Linked DNA regions of Homo sapiens: all the other regions are linked to region 4. The links are contacts of gene promoters, found by promoter capture Hi-C in human tissues and cell types (Jung and others, 2019). All regions are on one chromosome and are shown on one strand. The core of a region is centred on a gene start or on the middle of the fragment in contact, and the rest is flanking DNA. Distances in the headings are between cores, read along the strand shown. Region 1 has its middle 240 kb from the start of ZFAT. Region 2 overlaps TG (thyroglobulin). Region 3 has its middle 490 kb from the start of LINC03024. Region 4 holds the start of ST3GAL1 (ST3 beta-galactoside alpha-2,3-sialyltransferase 1). Region 5 overlaps TG (thyroglobulin). Region 6 has its middle 400 kb from the start of ZFAT. Region 7 overlaps ZFAT (zinc finger and AT-hook domain containing).

The links. Contacts are between HindIII fragments. The study calls those that stand out against the background at their distance.
Region 1: a fragment that was not itself captured here is called in contact with the fragment with the promoter of ST3GAL1 in region 4 in 1 of the 25 tissues and cell types used here (lymphoblastoid cells).
Region 2: a contact is called between a fragment that was not itself captured here and the fragment with the promoter of ST3GAL1 in region 4, in 2 of the 25 tissues and cell types used here (dorsolateral prefrontal cortex and hippocampus).
Region 3: a fragment that was not itself captured here is called in contact with the fragment with the promoter of ST3GAL1 in region 4 in 1 of the 25 tissues and cell types used here (dorsolateral prefrontal cortex).
Region 5: a contact is called between a fragment that was not itself captured here and the fragment with the promoter of ST3GAL1 in region 4, in 1 of the 25 tissues and cell types used here (aorta).
Region 6: a contact is called between a fragment that was not itself captured here and the fragment with the promoter of ST3GAL1 in region 4, in 1 of the 25 tissues and cell types used here (dorsolateral prefrontal cortex).
Region 7: a fragment that was not itself captured here is called in contact with the fragment with the promoter of ST3GAL1 in region 4 in 1 of the 25 tissues and cell types used here (dorsolateral prefrontal cortex).

What each region holds. Positions count from the first base shown.
Region 1 is chr8:134,471,012-134,473,918 of GRCh38, forward strand. No RefSeq gene overlaps it. Among named protein-coding and RNA genes, the nearest start is that of ZFAT, 240 kb to the right of the region's middle. The HindIII fragment of the contact is 3,682 bases long and covers 1-2,907 here.
Region 2 is chr8:132,875,053-132,877,786 of GRCh38, forward strand. The region is part of intron 5 of TG (thyroglobulin); the gene reads left to right. Among named protein-coding and RNA genes, the nearest start is that of TG, 9.5 kb to the left of the region's middle. The HindIII fragment of the contact is 5,473 bases long and covers 1-2,734 here.
Region 3 is chr8:134,172,414-134,175,448 of GRCh38, forward strand. No RefSeq gene overlaps it. Among named protein-coding and RNA genes, the nearest start is that of LINC03024, 490 kb to the left of the region's middle. The HindIII fragment of the contact is 5,339 bases long and covers 1-3,035 here.
Region 4 is chr8:133,570,423-133,573,136 of GRCh38, forward strand. ST3GAL1 (ST3 beta-galactoside alpha-2,3-sialyltransferase 1) reads right to left here and starts at 1,465. Exons shown (of 10, transcript NM_173344.3): 1 at 1,271-1,465. It overlaps ST3GAL1-DT (ST3GAL1 divergent transcript), which reads left to right and starts at 150. Exons shown (of 2, transcript NR_186509.1): 1 at 150-448; 2 at 636-2,714. RefSeq lists an enhancer at 1-105 and silencers at 1,475-1,964, 2,155-2,214. The HindIII fragment of the contact is 11,226 bases long and covers 1-2,714 here.
Region 5 is chr8:132,896,662-132,899,672 of GRCh38, forward strand. It overlaps TG (thyroglobulin), which reads left to right. Exons shown (of 48, transcript NM_003235.5): 12 at 988-1,125; 13 at 1,508-1,585; 14 at 2,137-2,249. Among named protein-coding and RNA genes, the nearest start is that of TG, 31 kb to the left of the region's middle. The HindIII fragment of the contact is 4,255 bases long and covers 1-3,011 here.
Region 6 is chr8:134,310,676-134,313,375 of GRCh38, forward strand. No RefSeq gene overlaps it. Among named protein-coding and RNA genes, the nearest start is that of ZFAT, 400 kb to the right of the region's middle. The HindIII fragment of the contact is 3,497 bases long and covers 1-2,700 here.
Region 7 is chr8:134,550,773-134,553,534 of GRCh38, forward strand. The region is part of intron 11 of ZFAT (zinc finger and AT-hook domain containing); the gene reads right to left. Among named protein-coding and RNA genes, the nearest start is that of ZFAT, 160 kb to the right of the region's middle. The HindIII fragment of the contact is 4,514 bases long and covers 1-2,762 here.

The DNA of each region.
Region 1 (2,907 bases), core at 76-2,575, 900 kb after region 4:
GAGACCATATGGCCAACAAAACAAAATATCTACCTGGCTCTACCAAAAACATTTGCTAAACCCTACATGGTTGCAGAAGGCCATGACTCTATCAAGAATCCTCAAAGGATCGAAAAACCAAAACACTGTCTTTGAGCAAACAGAGTAGTATCAGCTATCAAATACTGAGTACATGCTGTGTGCTAAGTATACTAGATGACAAGGTGTAGAATACTGTATCAACTCTACAGATGGTGCAAACATCCCCATTTATAAACGAGCTAACTGAAGCTCAATGAGACTGAGCATTGTCTGAGGCTGCGGAGCCAGCAAGCTGGAGAATGTAGCTTCATTCCATATCCATCACCCCAATCCCAGACTCCTCCATACTGAGTTGACACCTTCCTTCTCCAGGGCTAACACCAACCCACAATGCATGAGAGCTGGGTGGGACCTCGGAGATCCTCCAACCCCAAACCCCTGACTGTATGCCAGGGAAACTGAGGCCCAAACAATGCAAGGTCACTCAGAGAGTCCATGGCAGAGATGGGGAAAGAGACCACAGCTCCTGGCTCCCTAAAAAACGATGTCTTACTCAGGTGAGCACCTGCTCTGGGTCAGGTGAGGTGCTAGGCAGGTAACAGATCTATACAACAGCTGTAAGCATGTTAGTACCTCCATTTTTCAGAAGAAGGCACTGAGGCTCTGAAATCAAAGGCGATGTGTTCCAGAGCACACAGCTAGTAGAGCTGAGGGATGGATGTAGGTTCCTCTGAGTTCAAACTTGTTCTCTTCTCACTGCCCAGGCTGTGAAGTGGGGCCATCCGAGAAGCAGAGAAGGGCCACACTCCTCTGCTCTTCAGGGCAGTCCATGAGTCCCCCACATCCACTTTCTGCTGGCACCCAGCTGGGGTAGGTCGGCTTGGGTGGGGGAGCCCCCGCGGCTGAGGCTGACGTAATCAGCACTCAGGGAACACTGTCATTGCCATCCTTCAATGGAAGGAAGCTGCAGTGCCAACAGCTCAAATGACTTGCCCAAAGCTGCACAACTAATTTAAATTAGAACAAAAATCCTTCACTTGGAGCCCATGAACGCCTTACAACTGTGCTTAAGTTTTGTGTGTGTACACAGTTTTCTGGGGGGTAGGTCTATGGCTTGCATCAGAACCCGCAGAGCTGAGCGGCCCTACAAAGTTAAGAGCTGCTGTTCAGATCCAGGGTTCATGGCAGGCGTGCCCAGCACATTAGCTTCCAACGTCTGTGGGACTCTCCTCCTCCCTGCTCCCCTTAGCCCAGAACATTCTCCCAACCACAGCCTCCTCCAGTCCTCCCTCTCTGACATCTAGGATTTGGTGGAAGGTCTGTGACTGGCACAAGCTTTATCTTTTGAGCCTCTGGAATCCAGGTGTCATGAGGGCAGTGAGTCAGCAATAGCCAGGAAGGAGGCTACTCTCAGAGGGTGAAGCACAAGGGACAAGCCTTCCCGGGACTGCGGCAGGAATCTCAGACCCTTGAAGACACACGCCTCACTAATGGGCCCAAGCAGGAGTGTCTCAGAGAGTCACTTGCTCTGTGCCATCAGGGGATCCCCTTTCCCTCTTGGAGTCTCAGTTTGCTCATCTGTGAAATGAAGCAGCATGACTGTCTCCCTCAGTCCCTCCGGCCCTGGCCTTCTGGTCTTGCTTCGTAGTCTCCGTTCTGCATTCACATCGCTCTTTGACCATCGCTCCTGATCACTGCAAATGGAGAAGTCCCTTCCAGGCTCCCCCAGCCTCTGGGGCTCCTGCAAGGGAACTCACCCTCCAGGTTGTTCTGCCACTCATGCATCCAACATGGTTATTATAGAAAACAAATGATGACAATACTCACAAGGACTGTAAGTTAACCCTCCTTGGATGCCTGCACATGCTGGAAAATTGACATGCATCATCTTATCGAAGCCTCACAGCAATTTGATGAGGAAAGCGCTACTGTGATCCCCATTTTAGAAATGGAAAAACTGAGGCTCAGAGAGAACATGCGATGTTCCCAGCTCTTACGGGGTGAACCGATGACTCCAACCTGGGATTCTGACCTCAGACACGGCCACGATTCAGTCGCTCACGACATAGCTACACTTCTTTTTTTTTTTTTTTTTTTTTTTTTTTTTTGAGACAGAGTCTCGCTGTGTTGCCCAGGCTGGAGTGCAGTGGCGCAATATCTCGGATCACTGCAACCTCCGCCTCCCTGGTTCAAGTGATTCTCCTGCCTCAGCCTCCTGAGTAGCTGGGATTACAGGTGCGTGCCACCATACCTGGCTAATTTTTGTATTTTTAATAGAGACAAGGTTTCATCATGTTGGTCAGGCTGGTCTCGAACTCTTGACCTTGGTTACTATAGAATACAAATGATGATAATACTCACAAGGACTGTAAGAATTAACTTCATTAACTGTTGTCACTGATGATTTTCCCCTTGTTCTTCAGTTCCATCTTTCAAGGCTGAAGAAAAAAGAGCATTTGATTCCAAATCCATCTCCCCACTCCACCCCTTTTAAAATTCAAAATGAACTTTCCATCCTATCCTCTGAGGGCCGCCTCGGCCTCCCAAAGTGCTGGGATTATCCACACTTCTTCTTTACAGAGTGCCAGCTGATAGGCTTCTAGATATGCCTGGACTGGGTGGACTCTATTAGTTATTACAGTCAATAATGCTATAACTATGACCTACGCAGGACAGAAGCTGGGTGAGCACCCTTCCCCCAGGCCCTGCAGAATCTGTCTCTTGAGGCCAACTGCCCTCTAGGTATCTGCATGTGACCTAAGTGTTCACTGCAGGCAGTTCTGTCCCTTGCAGCTCCTTTATCAGTTTCACCTGGCCCATGACAATCCCCTGGGGCCAGGGCTGATGTCTGGGGCATCTCTCTATGACCCATAGGTCTGATTCTGG
Region 2 (2,734 bases), core at 6-2,505, 700 kb before region 4:
AGTGTTCCCATCCGTCAAATGGAAGACAAGCCCCTGCTCATTACACCATAGTGAAGATTTGATGAGGCCTCATCTATGAAACCATGGGTGCAAATTTACAAAGTTGTAAATTACTATACTTCTGTAGGTAATTCTCATGCATCAGCCAGCTTCAGCAAATGTAGGTTAGAATTTCCCCCTCCAGGCCTGGCCTGCCTGAGAGCAAGTATAAATCTCAAACAGCCAGTTTTATTGAGTACTTATTGCTGCAAACCAATGTGTTCTCAGTTCAAGATCACCTGAGTGCTTACTATATAATGGGAATTTTATATCCTTTAACTTACCTTAATACTTATAATTAGATAATTATAGTCATTACTATACAAATGATTACTGAAACACAGAGGTTAAGGAACTCACCCTAGTAAGCTTAGGTGCTAGAACTGTCTGGCTCCTTTTAGTATCCCACATAAATGTAACTCATCTCTGTTCCCCTACAGTGCATGGCACAGAGCCTTGCACACAGCAGGTCTGGAATCAGTGCTTAAGGAATTGGTGAATGCATCCAAGACCCTGGTGTGTGCCACACTGAGGTTGAGGCACAATTCACAGCTATTTCCACAAGAGGGCAGTCGAGTTAAATGCAAAAGTTCAGAATAAGCATTCTTTGTTTAAAAGAAACACAAAAATTTACTCCTGAAATGGGAGCCTTTTCATTTTGTAAGAAAGCATGTCTCTGAGTAAATTATGGTATTGAAAGGTCATGGGAAGGGTTGGGTGGTTGGTTACTGGAAGCCCAGCTGTAATCAGGGATTTTCCGATACTTAAGTAGACCTGGGTAGTCGCAGGCCCAGTGACTTCTCTGGGCACAGTGGAAGGAGCCTTGGAGGCCATATAGAGGGCCTAAGCTTAGCGACTCAGGTTTCTAGGTAAAATACGAGACAGCAAGTTACGTTTGAATTTCAGATAGCAAAGAGTAATTTTTTTTTTCAGTGTAAGTATGTTTCAATATTGCAGCAAGCATGTGAAGCTTGGGGTTGGGGAAGGGTATATCATAATCACCACTGGACTTGGATTTCTGAAAAAATGGAATGGGTGAGGGGAGAGCAGAGTGAGTGCAAGGAGGCAGCCCTCCGAGTTTGGAGGCTACTGCACTAGTCCAGGCAAGAGACGACGTTGACATGGAGCAAGTGTCGGAGAGGACAGCCAAGAGATGGGGTGAGACTGGAGGAATATTTACCAGGTGGAATCCACAGAACTTGGTGAAGGAATTGATATGGAGGTGAGGGTCGGGGGGAGTCAAGAATGACTCCTAGGTCTGGTTTCTGGATGGATTCTTGAGGATAAATTTGAAAAGGAAAAGCCACAAGCTTTGTTTTGGGATGTTGAATCTAAGGGGATTTTTTTTGAAAATTAAAATGGAGAAGTGGCAGAAGGCAGTTACTTCCCTGGGGCCACCAGAAGGCTGGAATCCTGTGGGCAGCTCATTCGCTGACCTGCTGCTGTGAGTTATTTATGTGCTGGGTGATGGTTTGCACTTGAATTTGGCAATGATGTTTGCCCATCTGAAGTAGGTCCTTTTGCCCTTCAAGAAGGCTACTGCTTACAATATCTGTTTGGCTGGAAAATTTTAAAGAACCATGTTGTAATGGGGAGCAAGCTTCACTGGTCCTTCTGACTCATGCCCCATCTTTTATATTGCCCTAGCCCAACCAGTAACTGTGGACACACATTCTGACCAAGCAGATCATAAGTAAAGGTCTTAAGAGCCTTCAAGCAGGGCTAATGCCATTGTCAAAGCCTTAATGATCTGAGTTAATTGGCTTCTTTATTAACCCTTGTCCTTAATGACTAAACACACTCAAACTTCTTAGCAACCAGTCTAACTTCAAATGCCTTAGCCACCCATGCTACCCAGATTGCCCAGTGGGAAGAAGGATCAGATGTGTCTTAATATATGGTAAAGGGGCATTGTAACCAGAATGTGGAAGGTACTGTATGGAGAAATCCTCACTGGGGAAGCACCAGATCACCCTCATTACAGACACCTGTGGTGGTTGGCTATGCATCAGGCGCTCTGCTAGGCTACGGCCCCCTCTTATTTTATTTTATTTTATTTTATTTTTGAGACAGAGTCTTACTTTGTCACCCAGGCTGGATTGTAGTGATGGGATCTCAGCTCACTGCAACCTCTGCCTCCCAAGCTGAAACAATTCTCCTGCCTCAGCCTCCCAAGTAGCTGGGATTACAGGCATGCGCCACCCCACATGGCTAATTTTTGTGTTTTTACTGGAGACGGGGTTCACTATGTTGGTCAGGCTGGTCTGAAACTCCTGACCTCAAGTGATCCACCCACCTCAGCCTCCCAAAGTGCTGGGATTACAGGTGTGAGCCATGCCCGGTACGGCCCGCTCTTTTAAGGAGCACCCTCCCTAGTGCAGGACAGAATGAAATACATGGCTCATTTGTGAGTCAGTGTTTAGATTTCCAAAGAACTGCCTGTGGGAGATGTTAGAGAATCTGACTGAGCCCGGAGGCAGGAATCGTACTCTGCGAATGAACAAGACCAGATGCCCAGTGGAGACCAGAATTTCGCATTCCTCTGAGCCTTGGTTGTAATTTCTCTGTCTAGGTTGGCTGTAATCTGAGCATAAACTCAGAAATGCCACCCCTTGCCCCTCTGCTAGCATTTGCTTTCTTGAGGATTCTTCTATGGCCACCCTGAGATTTTGCTTTTTATTCAACAAAAGGCAAA
Region 3 (3,035 bases), core at 460-2,959, 600 kb after region 4:
ATGGCAAAGAGCTTTGAATTCTGTGACAAGATTGGATTCTATCCTACTGTTTCCAAAAGTGTGTTCTGCAGAACACGAGTTCCTCTACATGCCCTGGAATAGAAAGGTTTCTGTAGTTGAATATGTTTGGAACCTGCTTTGCATCCCTCTTCTTAGAGACTCAAATCACACATTTGCATGTTTTGTTTTGTTTTGTTTTTGAGAGCTTCAAGAAGTACTTCAGTTTTTAAAAAGCAGATTTTAAAAACCTCTCTTTTATTAATTTCATATACCATTTTTTGGTAACATCTGTTGACATCTTAGGGAATTTAATTTGGGAAATAGCACTCTAGGCAAAGGAAAACCCATTGCTTCTCGGCACCCTCTGCAAGTCTTGCAGCTCCTCATCCAGGTAGGTGTGCACTGTATGTTCTGCCCTCCTTCTAACTTCCAATAAGTCTCAGCCATGTTCTTTCTTTTTTTTTTTCTTTTTCCTGCAAGACAGACCTATAATATATGACAATCTTAGAAATGGAATAGGCTTATTTTTTCAAATAGTGTTATTCAATTCTAAAACTTCTATTTCATTCTTTAAGTTTCCATTTCTCTAATGAGACTTCCCATCTTTTTATTGACTACAAGTTTATTTTCCTTGCTTTTTTGAATATAATTACAGTAACTGCTTTAAAATATTTGATAACTCCCATTAATCATTTCAAGATTGATGGATGTTGATTGTCTTTTGAGAATTAATGACATTCCTGGATCTTCATCTGTTGAGTAATTTTTGTTGTCATGTCTTGGACATATTAATGTTAGATTTGGAGGTTCTAGATGTTATATTCTTCGGAAATATAATTTTATCTGTCGGTTTGCTTTGTTTTTATCAAGGATTTAATTTGATTAGACTCAAATTGCAAACTCTAGCTTTTAAGTAAAAGCTTAAATTTCCACCTTAGCTAGAATCTGTCTCACACTTGCGTAGTTCATGAATCACTTGAGATTTGGACAGAATTTATACTTGAAATTTTTGTTCCCTCCTTCCAGTCATGCTCCCTTATTTTCCAATCATTGTGGTTGCTCCACTCTCTGTCCTTTGGTTCTATGAACCAGAAAGATGGTAAATTTCTTTATTTTTTTGGGGGGGGTTGGTAGTTTTGGTTGGTAGTTTTTTTTATTGTTGTTTTTTATTTTTATTTTTTTAGCTGTGTTTTGTTGGTTTGATGTAGCCATCCAACATGGCACTGACTTTAACCTGTTTTCAGGCTAAAAGTGAAAAAATAAAAATAAAAAGGGCCACTTATAGCATGTCATCCAGTCTTCCAGCCAGAGTCTGCCTGGTTTTGTTTATTTCTAGTAACTTTGGGCCATGTTTTGTTTTTCCCTCACTATTTATTATATTACCTGTTGGAGGATCATGTCTGGGAGGAACTACTTAGATATATTGCATTCAAAACTCCTCTGTTTGTTTTTATTTTTCCTCCTGTGAATGACTAAAGCAAATTCCAATCTACTATTTTAATCAAATAATTAATTAACAATTTATTGATACACCATTTTATGTGCAGTACAATGGTATAAGGGGAAGGGGATAGAATAAGTTCAAAATATGATAGAAACTTTGGTGTTTCAATTTACTTTTGTAAGAGTTGTCTGGCTTTAATGTTTTATCTCAGACTGCCAAAAACCATGGTGGAAAGAATTTTTGTTTTTTTTTCCTGAAAGGTAAATGGAATCTATTTCCAGCTCCGCCACTAACTTCCTGTATAATCTGGGAGATGTTATTTGACTTCACTGAGACTCAGTTTTCTCATCTGATATTAAAGCCAGATGTACTAGACAATCTCTGATTACCTACCAGGTCTAACATTCTCTCATTTTACTGAAGAAAAAATAGCTAATTCTTGGACCTCCCCCAGATGCCTGAAAAGTTGTAATTAGGACTTTTTTTATGTTCTTGATTTTTCAGATTCAGGGTTATTAAGTACAACATCCTACTGTGAAAATACTAAGAAGAAGTCTTTTCTTCCTCTGAGGTTAATATATAGGACATTGGTTCTTCTTCTAATTGGATAGGTCACCCAGAATACCTCTTACACTTTCACAGAGTGTGCCCAGTGTATAACGTGGCAGACCGGAGCACTGCCTAGAGTTGTAAGACCAAATTCAGATTGTAAACCTAAGCTCATTTACGAAGGAACCGCAGCTCAGGAATTAAATACAACTTAATTTAGTTCTTCACAGAAGATGAGTTTTGCAGTCAGAAATACCAGAGGTTATATCCCATTTCATCATTTAATAACTGTGTGTCTTGAGCAAATCACTGCATCTTTCTGAGCATCAGTTTTCTCAGGTTAAAACTAAACTAACAATCACCAGTCTACATATTAACATATTCCAAATTATCTAGTACAATGTCTAATTGCATTTGATCAATATGAATTTGTACCACCCCCATGCTAAGTTAGGCTCTGTGCAGTGATACAAAAGAAGGAACAAAGGAGAGGCTTGACCCACAAAAAATTTGCAGTCATAGTTGGAGACAGAAATACTACATAATTAGGTAAAATCTAATATGGGTCTTAGACAAGCAGCACTTATTTGTGTAGATTTTAGACATTTTTATTCATAACAGCTTACAAGAATGCACCTGCAAACCTTAAGAATCCAGATACACTATCTCTTAACTACTTTTAGCCACATTTAAAATTGCATTTGTATTTTATAAGCCTCCTTCATATATATTATTGTGTTTAAACCTCAGAACAACCAAGATGAAACAAAATACTGTCTCTTTCATTTTATATTTGAGGAAACTGAAATTTAAATGAGTCAAGAGACTTGCCCAACATCTCATAACTAGAAAGCTGCAGAACTATACTTAGATTGCAAGTTTAACTGACTTTAAGCCCATTTCTCTCTCCCCATTTCCTAGCTGCAGCAAATTCAAACCATTGAATAATTTTGATCAGGTCCAATTACACCATGCGTGGGGAAAGAGAGCTTCTCATTTTGAGGTCACATAAAATAAAGCATTTGACATTTCCTAGACAGTT
Region 4 (2,714 bases), core at 215-2,714:
CCCACCCCCTTGCGCGCTTCTGGGTGCGCACGTGTCCCCTCGCCCAACACACCACCGAGCCCCGCGCATGGTACGGCCGCCGAGGACCCTAGCGTAGGAGGGAGGAGCGAGTCAGGGCTCCAGCTGACGAGCAGAGCCAGACGATCCCCACACGCTTCCTGGGAGACCCGGCTGCAAGGCCAGGCTAATGCGCGCTCCGACGTCTCTGTGCCAAGCCGGGGCGCAAGCTCAACCCCCATCTCAAGTTCAGCCGCGCTTCCTCCCGCAAGGTCACGCTTAAACACTCGCGCAGAGAAAGGAGGAGCGGAAAGTTGCGCCACCGTCCCGATTCCAAACTAACTGTACCCTCACCAGAGCGCCTCGCCCCAGGGTCACCGCTGTCCGTCCCCGTGCGCTCCCAGAAGGGGTGGCCCTGCCCCCACGCAGGTCACACACACGAGAGACACAGGCAAGTTGCTAACTTTTGTCAGATTATTTCTTGGGAGCTGCGACGCCTCACGGGGTTGGGGCGGATTCAGAGTTTCGAGTTGCCACTAACACGACTCCGGCCGTGCTCTCCTTGGCCCACCCGCGTCCCCCACTGTCCGCCACGCCGCGTTCAGCTCTCTTGTCCCGGGTGTCAACTTCACCCCCAGATCCGGAGCAGCGCGCTCTGACGGCGTCCCCGGGGCCGATAGCCACCTCCCGGATCTGCGCCTGCTTGCAGCGGATTGGGGGACTCGATCCGGATACTGTCCCACGGCCGCTCGTCCAGAACACTGGCGGCCTCCGCGGTGTCCCAGCCTGTGACCCCAAATCCGCTCGAGAGCGCCTGAGCCCGGCCACCCAGCGAGGTCTCCTCCCACGGGCGGCCCCAGCGGAGGAGATCCCAGCCCGGCGCCGGGTGCAATGTCACTGGGGCTGCTTTCGGGAACCGCTGCCCGGGACTTGGCGTAGGTTCCCCACAGAGCTCCAGGCAGCTCCTCCAGTGTCGGCCGAAGACCCCTAAGCCCGAACCTCCACCCCGACCTTCTTCCTCTCCCAAAGCCCTGGGTGGTCGCCGCTGCCAAGGAAGGGGTCTCCCTTCGAATGTCTTCCACTAGAATCCCGGGGTCTTCAGTCCCAGCTCCACTGTCACACCCTCCTAGTCCCCTCCCCACCCCTTCAGTTCCCGGGTCCAGACAATCAACCTTCCACTCCGAGAATCCACAGGAAACTGCCCGAGCCCCAACTCAGGCGGACGCAGCCCCCGCGCACCCCGAGCAGGGTTCGCCTCCGCGCGCGCACTCACCACGGCTGGAGACACGCTGGAGTTTCCGGGATTTGGGCATGAAGGGGTTCGGAGGAGAATACAGGGGTGTGGGTGTCCCGGACACTTGCCCCCTTCCCAGCTCACATCGCCTCTTCCTTCTCTCTCCGCTCTTCTTCCTCCTCCTCCTCCCTCCGGTCTAGGGCTCTTTGTCTTTGCAAAGTGTCGAAACTGTCTGGCATAGTGGGCTCCGCCGGCGGAGGCTGGAGCCGAGGAAGCGAGGAGGCGGGATGAGGGTGGGAGAGGGCTCGGGAACACCTTCCCCCGGGTGTAACGGGAGTGAAAGGCGGGGCGACCGAGGAGGGGCCGCCTTCCCTGGCCGGCCGGGGCCGGGTGCCAGGGCGCGCCAGAGCCCAGCCACCGCCTCCCCTGCGCGCGGCCCTCCCCTTCCTCCGCCCAGTGCCCGCCCCTCCCGACTCTGCGCCTCCGTTCGGCCCCGCCCACCCCAACTTGGCTCGGCTTTCCCTTGGCTCCGGGCTTCCTGCAAGCCGAATTTAGCTCTGCCAAGCCACGTGGACCGCAGCGGGCTCGGCAGAGGCCGAGCCTGGGAGACGCCGGAGGCGGCGGCTGCGGCGCGGGGACCTGATCGGCGCCCCGAGAGGAGCTCCCCGCTCTCTGGACGCGGCCCTCAAGCTGGCGGGGCTAAGGAAGAGCGCCCGGGAGGCCCGGGAGCCACTGGGGTCCGTTTCAGCAGGAAGACGGGCACGCACCGAGAGGATGGCAGTGCCCAGAAGAACTCGAGTCGGGGGCACGGTGGGGAGAAGGGGCCGATCCCCTGCTGGCGACCGGGCAGAGCCACCCACTTCCTCTAAGGGCGCGGGACTCGAGGTGGGATTTAGGGAGGGGGAAGGGAGGAGCGTGGGCTGGACGACTCTTGCGGCCAGAACCGCGTTCAGAGCCACAGAGCCGGGCACTGCGGCCGGCCCTGGTCCCGGCCCCGGCCCTGGCCCAGCCCTTGCCCTGGCTCGCCTGCCGCCGCTTTTTCCTTCCAGATGCGGAGGCTGCGGCTGGAGCTTGGGGTTTGCGGATTAGGCTTGCAGTTATTCAGCCCTCCCTCTTTTACAGGGAAGCGGGGGCGGTGGAGACTTCTTTTGCTGAAAGGCAGAGTGCAGCGCTTTGATGCTAAATGCAGTACACAAGTCATGTAAATCTGGTTTTACGGTTCTTAACCCCTTACTGAGACTACCTCTTTCGCAACTTTTCGGAGGAATGTTAGAGGAAAGAGGCACAGTTTGCCTTTGGGGTCATTGCATCCTTCCAGCGCCCCTTGCTCCAGCTGGAGAGAGATCAACCTTTTGCAGTGGAAGGGGAGAGTCCCCCAGCCTTTGTTTCATCAGACGGCTGCTGTAGTACAGGGATTCAGGCCAGGGCCCGCATGGCCGGACTTCTTGGTTCAAATCCTGCACTGCCACTCAACGGATGTGTG
Region 5 (3,011 bases), core at 64-2,563, 670 kb before region 4:
ACCCGCTGCCCACCCTTGCTTCTTCCTCTCCCCCTCATGCATTCATTCACGCTTTTTTCCCAATCGGTGATTTCTTGAGTGCCTACTATGAGCCAGACACTCCTCTACATGCAAAATAAACACAAATCTCTGCACCAAAGAGCTTAAATGCTAGTGCGGAGGAGACAAATCTAACACAATAAATGGGAACACTATGTACTATGTTGGTGGTGGGGAAAGCCATGTGCAAAGCCCAGTGGGTCGGGGACTGCAAGAGCTGAGGACAGATGCAGTTTCATTAGTGGGGTGGCCAGTGGTTCATCATATAACCTCCCTCGCTGAGCCTCTGTGTCCTCACCTGGGGTAAAAGTTCTGGCTTCATGGAGCTGCTGTGAAGATCTGATATGATTTTTGTGGATATCCAAGTTTCAAAGGGGTTAAAAACTAAACTGTAGGAGTTTGGTAGGGAAACCTACGAGGGCAGCTGATGTCAATCGCCCTCCTGTGTTCCAAGGCCAACCTCTCTTCTTTCTGTCTGTGAACCCTTGGTTAAGTTGCTTAATCCATCTGTGTCTCAGTTTTCTCATCCATTAAATGGGATAACATGACATTTCTTCAGATTGCTGTGAGGATTAAATTAATTAAGGTATGTATTTAGCTAGTGCCTCACACATAACATATGAGTATAGAGCCTACCTATTATTACTATTATCTCATGTGCCTGAAGACACTTCACTGACCTACTGATTTCTGTATGGAAGTTATTGTAGAGGTCTACTATAATATTCTTTCAAGCTTCAGCCTAAGTGTTATTCTTAAAGGACAATCTGTTGAGTGCCTGCCTACTGTGCAAGGAGCCTTTGTAATACTGTGGGTTGAAATGTTTGTCAAATAAATAAATAAGAAGGCCTCCTTATGTTGGAACCAGGACATACGTGGTTGTTCTCAGCTACAGAGCCCACACAGAGCAGGTGGTCATATTCTGCTTTTCTCCTTCCCTGACTCCAGCCTTAAGCTTCTATCAGAGACGCCGCTTTTCCCCGGACGACTCGGCTGGAGCATCCGCCCTTCTGCGGTCGGGCCCCTACATGCCACAGTGTGATGCGTTTGGAAGTTGGGAGCCTGTGCAGTGCCACGCTGGGACTGGTAAGGAGGGATAGGCACCTTCAGGTGGCCAAGTGACACCCCTTTTTTATTTTAGAGGACAGAGCCCCACACTGGGAGGCAAGTGAGCTGGACTCTTAGGCTCCTCTTTAGCAGCTGGTGAAAAATTCCTTAGCTTCTCGGGCCTCCAGTTATCTCACTTGTGTAACAGGAGCAGGAAACTTCTACCAGCCTGAAAGACAAGTGGGTGGTTGCTGGGGGCATCAGAGTGATTGTGGACAATGTCCGGCTGGGGGTCTAGACTGGGGACAGAAGGCGACCAGGCTTGCACTGCTATGAGTGAAGAAGGAAAGTTGTTTATGGGACACTCCAGGGTAAGTCCCTAGTGCAATTCCTGAATGTTCTCCCCTTGGCTCTTTTCCAGGGCACTGCTGGTGTGTAGATGAGAAAGGAGGGTTCATCCCTGGCTCACTGACTGCCCGCTCTCTGCAGATTCCACAGTGTAAGTGAAGACTGCAGAGTTCTCCTCCTGACCCCCCTTGGTGGGCATCACTGGTCTAGTCAGCTGTGGTTGCCTAACCGCTGGAGACTCCATGGCCCAGCCCTTCAGCCAGGTCCCGGGTGCAGCCAGACGCATTTCCCAAGTCCCCAGGCCTGCAAGCTTGCGCTGACCTTGGCACTTCCTAGTTGGAAGGCTCCCAGCTTTGCAGGTGGAAGGAAACAGCTGAGACTGTTGAAGGAGCCCTGGTTCTCCCCCTCTGTACATCTGCTGGGCAATTTCAGCCACTCCTGTAGTTTCAGCAACCGCCTCGCCTCTGAACCTGCAGCCCCAACCCCTCTTCTGAGGCTCAGCCATGTGTAATCCACAGTCCACTTGACATCTCAAAGCTGGCATGTCCCACATGAGTCTTTGTCCTCAGAGATTCTACCTCTCTATGAAGAGCACCTGCATTCACCCAGGCTCATGACCCTTAAAGGTGGGGTCAGCCTGGGATCCCCTCTTTCTCTTGGCTCCCACGACCAGTCCTTTACAAGCACCTCTCTCTCCCACAGGCCCGACAACCTGCGAGAAATCTCGAACCAGTGGGCTGCTTTCCAGTTGGAAACAGGCTAGATCCCAAGAAAACCCATCTCCAAAAGACCTGTTCGTCCCAGCCTGCCTAGAAGTAAGGGTCTGGAAGCACAGGATTGGAGCCGGGACTTGTCCCCGCTGGTCAGAGATGATTTTTCTTTTTGTTCAATACGTTCAGCTTAGTTAAAAGCTCACATGATGTTCTCAGCCTGGGTGTTTGTCTGGGCCTGCTAGAACCTGGTTCTGTGACCTTGGGCTATTTACTTACCTTTTCTGTGTCCCAGTTTGTTTTGTTTAATCATAAGATCAGGCCACATTTTGTCCTAGCTAATGCTAGGTTTGTTTTGAGACTCCAAGAAAATATCTTTCATAAGAACTCTTTGAAAAATAAACAAAACATGCTATCATGTTTTTCCTAAAGGCATCTTGGCCAAGGCCCTATGCTTACAGTGTCCCAGGTTCTCAACACACACAGAGGACACCAGCTTCTTTCCCTCCCTAGCTCCCGGGGTGATTGTAACAATTCATAATTCAGCGAAGTACTGATGTAGAGCTCCTAGAGAACGAATTTATGCCCAGAACTTAACCACTTACTTGCCAAGTGAGGGAAATCTCTGGGCTTAGTGTCCTTTTTCTAAAATAGGATGGTAGGAACACCACCACCCACTCTGCTCAGCTTCCAAAGACTTGATGAGAAGCAGATGAAACAGCAGTGTTGAAACTCATGAAACTGTACAGTACTAAGCAAAAGTTTCCTTATTATTGTTTGGTACTGTAAACATGGACCCACTTAAGCATAGTTTCATAGAGAAATTAGTCACTATTGTTTAGTTTTTTAATCTTGGCTGGAAAGCAC
Region 6 (2,700 bases), core at 153-2,652, 740 kb after region 4:
TGCTTTGAATGTGTCCCAGAGATTCTGGTATGTTGTGTCTTTGTTCTTGTTGGTTTCAAAGAACATCTTTATTTCTGCCTTCCTTTCATTATCTACCCAGTATTCATTCAGGAGCAGGTTGTTCAGTTTCCATGTAGTTGAGTGGTTTTGAGTGAGTTTCTTAATCCTGAGTTCTAGTTTGATTGCACTGTGGTCTGAGAGACAGTTTGTTATAATTTCTGTTCTTTTACATTTGCTGAGGAGTGCTTTACTTCCAACTATGTGGTCAATTTTGGAATAAGTGTGGTGTGGTGCTGAGAAGAATGTATATTCTGTTGATTTGGGGTGGAGAGTTCTGTAGATGTCTATTAGGTCCACTTGGTGCAGAGCTGAGTTCAATTCCTGGATATCCTTGTTAACTTTCTGTCTTGTTGATCTGTCTAATGTTGACAGTGTGGTGTTAAAGTCTCCCATTATTATTGTGTGGGAGTCTAAGTCTCTTTCTATGTCACTCAGGACTTGCTTTATGAATCTGGGTGCTCCTGTATTGGGTGCATATATATTTAGGATAGTTAGCTCTTCTTGTTGAATTGATCCCTTTACCTTTATGTAACAGCCTTCTTTGTCTCTTTTGATCTTAAGACTAAGTGGCAGAGCCAAAATTTGAACTCAGGGAGTCTGACACCACTGAAGGTTGAAGCCTATGCTTCAACCACTCTAGATACTCTAGATACTGCTTCAGAGACATGCAAACGTGGAGGTGCATGGACGCACACACAGACTTCTAATCATGGACTCTTCTCCCCCATGGTGTCTTCTCGTGTGCTACCTACCAGGCCCTCGCTGGCATCAAAGGGAGACAGAGCCGCTGTCACAGTCAGGAGTTGCCTCTCTGGTTCTGCGGGACCCAGCCCCCCTGGAGGTGGGAAACTGCAGAGGAAGAGGAAGTGGGTTGTCTGGAAAGGCAGGGCTGGGCCACAAGCCTACAGTTCTGCAGGCTTTGCTACTGGTGTGAGTTTCTTCCAGATTCACAGGAGAAGGAAGCTTAGGAGCAGCTGGCCTCCCCCGGCATCTCTGCAGGGGCCAGATTGCGTTGCCTTTTATGTTGTTTGTGCCCCATCAGCAGTTTCTCTTTGCAGTGGAAAAACATCCCACCTTCAGGGAGGCCTCTCAGCTCAGGGGTCTTTAGTGACCTCAATGAGGTAGAAAAAGTGCTTATATCTCTGCAGAGGAAAGGGAGCATCTCAGAGGTAAGAAGAAAGAAGCCCAGCAGAGGCCAGAAGTGCAGAGGCACAGACTCAAAGGGATGGATGCACCAGTGCCACACGACATTAGAGGCTCTTGTCTCCCATGCACCCCACCCCACAAACTTCACCTCCATCCCCCCTAAATCATGCCTCCTCACAGCCCCTCAGGTCACGCCTCTGCACAAACCCCTCAAGGCCTCTCCATTGACCTCAGAAAAAGTCAAAACTCTTCAGTATGGTTGAAAGAGGGGTGGTCAGCCCACCCCTCCCTCACCTGCTACACCCCAAGCATGCTAAGCTACTTGGGCTTCCCCAGCAGGGCGTGTGCAGCCTCCACACCAGTATCCCAGCTGTGGCCTCTGCCTGTGACATCTCTTCCTCCGCTGGACATTTCCCAAATCTCTACACTTCAAGATTCCACTTAGTCATCTCTCCCCTGAGTATACACACACACATACACACACACACACACACACACACACACACACACACCCCTCCCGGATTTTAGAGTTCTGAGTCCCTCCTCTGGATGCCTGTTCTGACAATGCTATAAAGAACTACCTGAGACTGGGTTATTTATAAAGCAAAGAGGTTTAATTACAGTCACACAGGCTGTATAGGAAGCATGGCTGAGGAGACCTCAGAAAACTTGTAATCATGGTGGAAGGCGAAGGGGAGGCAGGCACATCTTACTCGGCTGAAGAAGAAGGAACGTGAAGGGGGAGGGACTACACACTTTTAAACAACCAGATCTTGTGAGAACTCACTCACTATCAGGAGAACAGCACGGGGGAAGTTCACCTCCATGACCCAATCACCTCCCACCAGGCCCCCCTTCCAACATTGGGAATTACAATTTGACATGAGATTTGGGTGGGGACACAAATTCAAACCCTATTAGTCCCCCAGCAGCCTGCAGGGTCCTCTCTCAGAAGGCACCACACTATATGATACCCACTGATGCGACTAGAATCTGAGCTCCTTAAGGGCAGGACTGGAACCGATTCACACCTGAATTCCCTACACTACACACAGAACTGGTATATATGACACGCTGAATAAATGCCTACAAATTATCCTAATTCACTGCATTGTTAGAATCAAATGATATGACAGATGCAGAACATTTGGTAACCTGAAAATAATTATATAAACTAAATGTACTACTTCATAATGACTAATGAGATAAAAGAAATTTTACCCAAAGCCATTTCTAACATAAAAAATGTCAGACACTGTTAAAGTGCTATTTCTAATCAGCAATTATGAGCAGGGTTTTTCTTCCTTATTAGCAGGATTGTTTTCCTTAAAATAAAGAGGTTTTGGGGTTTATTTCATTTGTATATTTAGATGTAGCTTTTGTTTTTATTTATATTCCTAAATCCAAAAAGATTTAAGGCAACTTTTAAAGGAGTTAACATTTTCTGTATTTCCCACCACCCTCAATCACACTGCATAACTTTTAGAATATTCA
Region 7 (2,762 bases), core at 58-2,557, 980 kb after region 4:
CATTTCAAACCAATTTAACAAATGGCCCCTGTTACCACCACCACATGGCCCTGCCATGCATCCCGCTCCCAACCCCACCCGCCACGTTCAAAATTAACAAGAAAACCATGTGTAATCTCAGATTCCTCATTTTCTTGCAAATTTGGAACTGAAAAGCAAGACAAACACCACCAACAGAAACTCTATGCTTTACTTCTTTCCCTCTGCCCCTTGGTTCAGTAGTTTCCACTGAACCTGGAAAATGTTCTGGCTGCTAACTTTACACTCCATCAGCATTTTGATTGAAGATTTTGCTCGAGTCTTGATAGCTAAACATACAGCTGCAGGCTTAAATAGGCATAGCAGTGAGGGGAAAAAGGACAAAGGGGTAAATAAGTTCCTCTGCTTCACTTGAAAATGAGAAAGCGTGGACTAACGCGCAGAGAGTAGTTTTCACTACAGAGACATGGATCAAAATCCCAACTCTAGCTCATAGAAATTGTGTTACTCCTGAGCACATTACTAAAATAGACTGTGGGCCTCAGTGTCCTAATCCGTAAAACGGGGATGTTAATTACCTACCTGGTAGAGTTTTTCAGGGCAAAATAAGGTAATACACAGAAAACACCTGCGTAATGCCAAGCACATGGCTATTACAAAGAAACCAGTCCACCCGTCTTATTCATTCTAATGCTAGATATTTAAACATTCAACCTTGTGGTGGAACTTTCTTGTGGAAAGATGAAAACGTCTTCTAGGTAACAGGAGGAGTTGTAGTATAAATAAAACTGCAATGCCATAAGCAATGCCAGATGACTCAGCATTCTGAGGGGGTGCTGAGACTCTGAGACGATTACTTTGAACTATTTATAAATGTGTGGCTTCCAAACAATCTGCTTATTTGAGATCATTTTATTGCTTTCACTTCCTTGCTGACAAAGTTTAGATTGGAAACTAGGAGCAAATTACACAGCCACATCCTCGGCTGACCTCATCCAAACATCACCTTTGTTCAACTGAGTACCCAAGCCCCTTATACATTCTAGGTGCTCAGATGCCTCGTGTATTTTGTACATACAACCATTTCCCTTTCACACCGACACATTATAAAGGCCTTCAGGACTTATTTCATCATCAGGAATGCAAAAAGAGGTTACACTAATTCCCTTTGACTTGTGGGTATCAGTCAATCAGAGAGCTTTCTGGTTGCAACGGGTTTTTTAAGTTACAGGTTTTACACAACAGGATAATATATTAATCCAATTAAAACATAATTTTTAAAAACTGATAAAGTTGGAATAATTAGTTTGCTGGTTTTCTGGGTTCCCACAGCACCTTGTACATAACTTTTTGTAGCACTTAACATATTTGCTGTTACTTTTGATGTCTATTTGGTTCTCCCCAGACTTGTAACCCTGGCAGACCAGAGGCCTGCCTTCATCCTGAAATCCTCTGCCCCTGTCATGGTGCCTGACACAGAAGTGCCTGGTATTCAGAAAAAAAAAATGTGTTGAAAAATAAGTAAACATTTCATATGCTTTGCATCAAAAAACCAAATGAATAGTTAGCACTTTATTTGTACTTATGTTTTTTCTTAAAATTCTGAATGTCAAATTGTGGTATCATGTATTCTATATGGCATTCTCAGGAAAAGTTTCTCAATGATAATGAAATCGGTGATTGAGATCTCCCTTGCCTCTCACTAGTTTTATGAAAATACTTTTAGTTATGCAAATTTTAGGCTGACAACAGGCAATAGATTTCTCCAGCTTCATGGTGCACATTTTTGAAGATTCAATTGCATTTAGAGATACATCAAACATAAACTTTAAATAGTGTCTTTTCAAGATGATGGCGTGGATGGTTTCCCTTGTGAAAGAGCATACTCATCTATACCAAAAGGCTGATGGCTACAGAAGAGAAGGCCAGTCTCACCTTCTGGAGGTCAGGGACAGAGGAGTGATCTGAGCTATTTGTCAAACAGCAGAGAGGGTTATTCTGTTTCAGAAGCAAAAGCGTCTAAAGTAAGAAGGAAGGGTCAGCATGAAGTCACACTGAAGAATCTCCAAAATGCACAGATTTCAAAAACTGTGGATTTCAGACCTGAATTCCCTTTTTGTGGACTTGCACATTCACACACCAAATTTTGACATGCTTTCCATAAACCAGGAAAAGCTCTTGGTGCACTTGGAGCTTCACAGAGGAATGAGCCAAAGGGCAAACTTCCTCCAGTGCTGGGGCCTTGTGGCATGTCCTGTGCGATGCAAAAAATGGGTGAGAGGTAGTGATGAGGAAAGAATGGTGGGGCAAGGGCAGGGCAAGGCCCTTCTGCAGGAGAATCACACTTTTTGAAAGCATACGCAGCAGGTCCAGCAGTGAAGGGCAGGGCCACTGAGGAGAGAGACATTCACTGTTAGAAGGAGGCTGTTTATTAAGAACTCTGGGTGGGAGACATACCTGGTAAAAGCTTCTCAGCCGGTGCAGTGACTCATGCCTGTAATCCCAACACTTTGGGAGGCCGAGGCAGGTGGATCAAGAGTTAGGAGTTCACGACCAGCCTGGCCAAGATGGTGAAACCCCATCTCTACTAAAAACACAAAAATTAGCCGGGCGCGGTGGCAGGCACCTGTAATCCCAGCTACTCAGGAGGCTGAGGCAGAAGAATCGCTTGAACATGGGTGGCAGAAGTTTCAGCGAGCCGAGATCGCGCCACTGCACTACAGCCTGGGCAACAGAGTGAGACTCTGTCTCAGTGACATATTTATGTGGTCAGGTACATCATG